Linked DNA regions of Homo sapiens: region 1 is linked to region 2. Evidence: promoter capture Hi-C in 16 types of primary human blood cells and fetal thymus (Javierre and others, 2016). All regions are on one chromosome and are shown on one strand. The core of a region is centred on a gene start or on the middle of the fragment in contact, and the rest is flanking DNA. Distances in the headings are between cores, read along the strand shown.

The links. Contacts are between HindIII fragments. The CHiCAGO score rates a contact against its expected background, and 5 or more counts as called.
Region 1: a fragment that was not itself captured here is called in contact with the fragment with the promoter of PDCD4-AS1 in region 2 in 1 of 17 cell types (naive CD8 T cells); the score reaches 5.0 in naive CD8 T cells.

What each region holds. Positions count from the first base shown.
Region 1 is chr10:104,329,384-104,332,413 of GRCh38, forward strand. The region is part of intron 1 of ITPRIP (inositol 1,4,5-trisphosphate receptor interacting protein); the gene reads right to left. Among named protein-coding and RNA genes, the nearest start is that of ITPRIP-AS1, 7.5 kb to the left of the region's middle. RefSeq lists silencers at 1-43, 2,068-2,362 and enhancers at 816-1,461, 1,462-2,107. The HindIII fragment of the contact is 171 bases long and covers 1,176-1,346 here.
Region 2 is chr10:110,869,145-110,872,153 of GRCh38, forward strand. It overlaps PDCD4-AS1 (PDCD4 antisense RNA 1), which reads right to left and starts at 1,760. Exons shown (of 1, transcript NR_026932.1): 1 at 1-1,760. PDCD4 (programmed cell death 4) reads left to right here and starts at 2,784. Exons shown (of 12, transcript NM_014456.5): 1 at 2,784-2,874. RefSeq lists an enhancer at 1,282-1,892 and silencers at 2,897-2,946, 2,977-3,009. The HindIII fragment of the contact is 8,654 bases long and covers 1-2,468 here.

The DNA.
Region 1 (3,030 bases), core at 11-2,510, 6.5 Mb before region 2:
CACACTCTCTACGGATTGCACAAAACAACCCTACTATGACATCATTTTCTAGTCACAGGGACGGAGCAATAAGGTGTGATGCGGGTGCTCCACCGAGGCTGTGCTGGCACCCAGTAGGTGTCCAAATAATGCCTGCTGAATGCATGGACCCATGACTCATATGTGCGTCAGTCAGACTGAGGTGGGCAGCAAGCAGCCACTGATAGTGTCAAGTTCACACAGGCTCATTTCCACTCCTACTGTCACCGAGAAAGAAACAGCCCAAAGCTCATCAGCTAAGAAGAGCTTAACAGTTTGCAGAGGCTTAGAGAACCATTGCTAAGGAGTCAAACTCTGGAATCAGAAGGCCTGGGTTTGAATCTTGGCTCTACAACTTGCTATGGCAATAGTGTCCAATTTATGGCCTTGTGGACCATCTCACAGTCACTCGGCAGTGCTTGGTAAATGATACTGCTGTTGGCACTGGTACTGGTGCTGCGGTCATGTCTCCTTTTTGATTTGTTAAATCGTCATGGTTGCATGTTAAGGAGTCCTCTGGGAAGAAGTGGGTGAACAACATCCCTGCAGCTCCTCCAGAAGCCTGGGGAGTATGACTAAGTTGTCTCCTCCACCTCCTTGTCTTCTTCTAAAGGCCCCAGGGGCTGACACAGAGGAAGAGGAGGAAGTTTGGAGACCTAGGAAGGTCAGCAGCACCCTCCCTTACTCCCTCCAATCTGGCATCATTGACACTGACAGCTCTTCCATTAGGTTCTGAGTACCCAGCTTTGGAAGAGGGTAGTTGCTATAATGAATGCTTGCTGAATACATGAATGGAGTTAGGATTGGGAAAAGAACCTCACTGCCTTTACTCCCAGGAGCAGGAATTTGAAATTCCTGGAGTGAAGTGGAAAGCTCTGGATAAAGTAACTTCTACATTCTTTCTTCCTGGGAGGGGCACTGCAGTCAGAAAAACAAAGTGCTAACAGTGTAAGTGCCTTGGAAAATCCCTTCCAGCAAAATCCCTTCCAGACGTAGCCCTGGAGACAGAGACGGTTGCAGCCCCGTTTGGTCTGGACTGGCCTTCATGTAACTGCAGGCAGACTCACTGCCAACGTTTAGAAAATGGCCCAGGAATGAACCCTGACACGTTTTCTGACCCTCAGCTGCCTTGCCGTGGACACCTCCCTTCTTGCTCAAGCTTCTTGTAGAAATAAACAGAGGATTACAGAGTAAGAGAAGGAGCAGAGAAGTAATTCTTCTTTCAGGAAAAAACTGGACAAGCCTCAGGGCCCTGACACACCATGGGAGGGTTTAATGAATTACAACCACTGCATCCCATTTATTGAGGCTTAAGCATTGCACAATAAAGCTTTACATGTATCATTCTCACATCAAACCTCTGAGGCAGGCACTTATCTCCATTTTACAGATAAGGCAACTGAGGCACAGAGGTGAGGCCACTCACCAACATCATAGAGCCAGGATCTGAATCCAAACCTATCTGACTTTCAAGCCTATACTCTTCCCATGAAGCCACGAGCTGTGCTGCTCAGTGACCTGGTATCTGTGAAACATTAGACATGTACCTATGGACTTTCCTCACCCGGACTGTTTAGGGAAGGGTAGGTGACAATCTAGATGAAATGTGGGCATGAAGCAGGGAGTAAAACCTAATGAACTTATGAGACTCCTTCTACCAAGATTCTGTGAGTGTGGCCTGGGCTATTTGAGATAAAAGGAATGGAAAGCCTTCTCTGCAAAAAAGGGAGTGAGGGCTCTCTTGACACTGGCAGGTAGGCATGTGTTGGGGTGAAATGTCAGGAAGCGGCATGGGTACATTAGGGACATTTTGGGGCAGCACACAGGGGTAGGACCCAGGCAGCCCCTGCTCTCCTACCCTCCAGCCCAGGCATGCTGCACCCCTGCCTCCTTGGGAACTTTGGAACAAAGTCTCAGCAAACAAAGGACGCGTTCGTAAACTTCAGGCGGGTCCCCCGGCTGCTGCTAAGAGGCTATTGAAGCCGGCTCCCATGAGAACAGTATGTTATGAGCACATGGTTTTGCACTAGCGGGCAGGGCCAAAATAATGACAACACCTTCCCTGCTGCTTTGATACAGGAGGAGGGGGCGAGAGTTGGGGGGACTCCTGCATCAGCTTCAGGGAAATGACCTAGAAGGGAGAGAAAGCAGTAGCAGCCCAGGGTTGCTTCCAAGCTGAGCCCCTCTTCCCAGGCAGTGAGTGTCCCACTGTGTTATGCACCTGGAAGTGAGTCATTTGATAATTGCGGGGCTTTGTATTTTTCCTAGGGACTTCCAGCAGAGGACTGCAAAGTGCTCTGAATATTATCAGGAACTGGTTGTTACTGTGCCTATTAAACAGAAAAGCAAACAGTGCTGGAAGGGAAAGCCTTTCCTTCCTTTCACCCTCAGATAGCTCAGGCCACACTCACAGAATCTCTTGGCAGAAGGAGTCTCCAAAGCTCACTAGGTCTGCTAATATCAGAGTGAGACAGCAGGAAGGGACCAGAAGTCTCAGGCCTGGAGTTGGTGGTCTGCTTGCTGTTTTCTCAGTATTGACACTTAAAACTTTGTGGGATTCTTTATGCCATCTGTATGTGTTCTGGGCTACAGTGTCCAGACAGACGCCTGAGGTGGCAGAAAGAGTCCAAGGCCCTGGGAGAGAGCAAATCTAAATTCGAATCTCTTCTCTGTTGTTGTCCGTTTGGGGCAAGTCCCTCTGAGTCTGTTCTTTCACCTGTAAAACTAGGATAACACCCACCTTGAAGGGCCATTGTGAGGAGGAGAAATAAATATGTGTAAACCCCTAGAATGGGGCTTTGCTCAGTAAATGAAGCCACTATTTTTTTTTAATAAGGCCATTCTACTTATATGAACAATGTCATATCCATAACGGTGGATTCTGCAGATTAATGATACTCTAATTTTTATTTATAAACCTGAAAAAGCTAGGTGCATACAAGAATTAGGGCAATGACTTTAGCCACCGAAATGCTGGACATCAGAAAAGCACCTGAAGTTATGCCTAGTTGC
Region 2 (3,009 bases), core at 510-3,009:
CTGAGTGTCTGGCCCAACCTTGTCAACCACACGCAAATACGGCAGCATTCTCAAAGGTGGGTTCTGGGATCCCAGCCATCATGGGTACTGCTTGAGATGATACGCAAAAAGGACATGAACGTTTTCCTCCCTAATGGGTCCTTTGGGGGCAATTTGCTAAAACATAACAGGTTGTTTTAGATGCTTCTTAAAATTGGTAATCATATCCCATTCTTTCTTTATCTCATAGAACTCGGGATGCCTACCCAACACAGCCTGATTATGCTATATGTGCTTAGTAAGTACATTCAATGAATGACTAAATGAAAGACAGGGAGGAAGAAGGAAACAGTCCAGAACTGAAAGGGATGAGAAGAGAAAAAATGTGGAGAAAGAGAAGGATGGGTAACAAAGGAGCCAGCAGTCACTGATCAGTAGAGTATAGGTGAGAGAGGGGAAAGGAGACAGCTGCAGATAATGGAAAATAACAAAACAAAACTGAGGTCTGGGAAGCTCCGATTTTAAAAAGTGAACATGAGTTATGAGACTAATTCAGATACTGGCCACACCAGGAGGCCCCCGCCCAGGAGATGAGGATGACCACCAACTGCTGAGAATCTTTGTAAACTCAAATCAAGGTGTATTTATTGCACAGGCACAATAAATGAACAAGGCATCTTAAGTACTACAATGACAGGTGAGTGGGTCAGGCACAGTGGCTCACGCCTGTAATCCCAGCACTTTGGGAGGCCGAGGCAGGCAGATCCCTTGAGCTCAGGAGTTCAAGAGAAGCCTGGGCAACATGGCAAAACCCCATCTCTACTAAAAATACAAAAAACTAGCTGGGTGTGGTGGCACAGGCCTGTAGTCTCAGCTACTTGGAAAGCTGAGGTGGGAGGATGGCTTGACCCCAACAGGTTGAGGCTGCAGTGAGCCAAGATTGCACCACTGCTCTCCAGCCTGGGCAACAGGGCAAGACCCTGTCTCAAAACAACAACAACAACAAAATCACAGATGAGTAAGACACAGGTCTTTCCCTAAACAAGGTTACAGTCTAATGGGCAGAAGGGCTAGGACAGGGACTCAGATGAAATAATGCCAGGTAGAATGTGATCAGTGCCCCTGGAGGTGTGGCAAGCCAACACTGTGAGGAATCAGCGGCAGGAAGATCATATCAAATCACGAGGCTCCAGAAAAACTACGAGGGTCCAGGAATGGTGGCTCACGCTTGTAATCTCAACGCTTTGGGAGGCAGAGGTGGGCTGATTGCTTGAGCCCAGGAGTTCAAGACCAGCCTGGACAACATGATGAAACCCTGTGTGTACAGAAAATACAAAAATTAGCTGGGCATAGTGAGCTGTGCCTGTAGTCCCAGTTACTCAGGAGGCTGAGGTGAGAGGATCGTTGAGCTAGGGAGGCTGACGGAGGTCGAGGCAGCAGTGAGCTGTGATCATGCCACTGCATTCTCCTGGGCTAAAGGGCAAGCCCCTGCCTCAATTAAATAAAACAACAACAACAACAAAATAAAAAACTACCAGGAAGGGCCATGAGGCACAGAAGGATTGCATCAGGCGGAGATAGGAGATGAGAAGAGAGACATTTCAAGGTGATATATAAAGAACTACCAGGGGGTGAGGAAGCATATGGGGAGATGTGTGGAGACACAGCCTGAAAGTCTTGAAGTCACATCACGGAGCCTTGAATGACCGACCGAGGCGCTGACACTCAAGAGAGGCAATGGGAAGCCAGTGAAGGTTTGTGTGTGTGTGTGTGCGTGTGTGTGCAGAGAAATAGTAGCATTAGAGATGATTCCCAGGCAGGGTGACTGGGCAGCCAAGGGAAAGCGCTGGCCTGTGCGGGATGAGGCAGTTGGGTTCTGGAGAGCACAAGCAATCATTCGGTGCTGCCCATCAGACAACTGAAAAATCTGATCAGAGGCAGTGGCTAAGTCCCCGCCTGGGAACACAAAGGAAGCCTAAGGTTCTGGTTATCACCCTCAGGGGACCGTGACCTTGAAAGAGTAAGGATAGTACCAGCCAAAACCAATGCAGCCAAGAGGAAAAGTCACAGAGAACAGCGAGGGGAGGTGGAAGTTTCAATACAGAAATTGTAGCCATGGCTGAGAACCCCAGCACTGGAGGCCGGAATTTGTGCGTTTGAACGCCAGAGGCTTGGCTAGTCATGATTAGCAAAGGAACTTCAAAGAGTTTTGGAGCCTGCTTTATATCTGTGAAATGGGAATTATTTCCATCTCAAAGGTTTGAGGGGATTCGCTGAGAGAAACTTCTTAGCATGGGATCTCCAGAAACTGGAAGCCACAGAGAAAGCAGCGGCCAGAGGGAGGAGGAATCGGACAGGCTGATCACTTGGAGTGTTCGCCTAAGCAGTTTCTAGAAATGGAGGCAGGGACCATCAGGAAGCTCAAAACCTTTGCTTCAGCCGAGTTTGCAGAACGCCCTGTGAGGAGAATGGGTGAGCTGGGTCGAGGAAGCTTCATCCTCGTCCCCATCCCCCAGCACTGCCCTTTTCCCAACGCTCCCATCCCGCCACGCCTCCCAACATACCCCCACCCCGACTTCCCGCTCAACTCCCGCTCCAGCCAGTCCCAGGAGCCACATGCGCATGCGCCCTCCCGCGCCCCTCCCCAACTTTCCACGTTTCACTCCTCTCCCTTTTCCTCCTCAGCTCCGGCTCCGCCGCCACGATTGGCCAGCCGACCACCCGGCCTCGGCCAATAAGCGCCGCCCTCTCGCCCCCGTGTTACTGGGTAGAAGAAAACAAAAACAAACAGAGCGAGAAGGGCCAGAGACTCTCCGAGGCGGCGGCAGAGACAGAAGAGCGGGGTCGGGGCCGGCTGACCAGGAACCTGGGCGAGCAGCGGCGGGGGCCCGAGGGGTCAGTACCAGTAGGCGCGGCTCACACGCTCGGGAAGACTGCGCCCTCTCCCCCATCCCTCCTCGGAGGCAGCCGCAAGATGGGAGGGGGCGGGGGCGGAGGCGTGGGGGTCGCGGTCCTGTCAGGTCCGGGCCT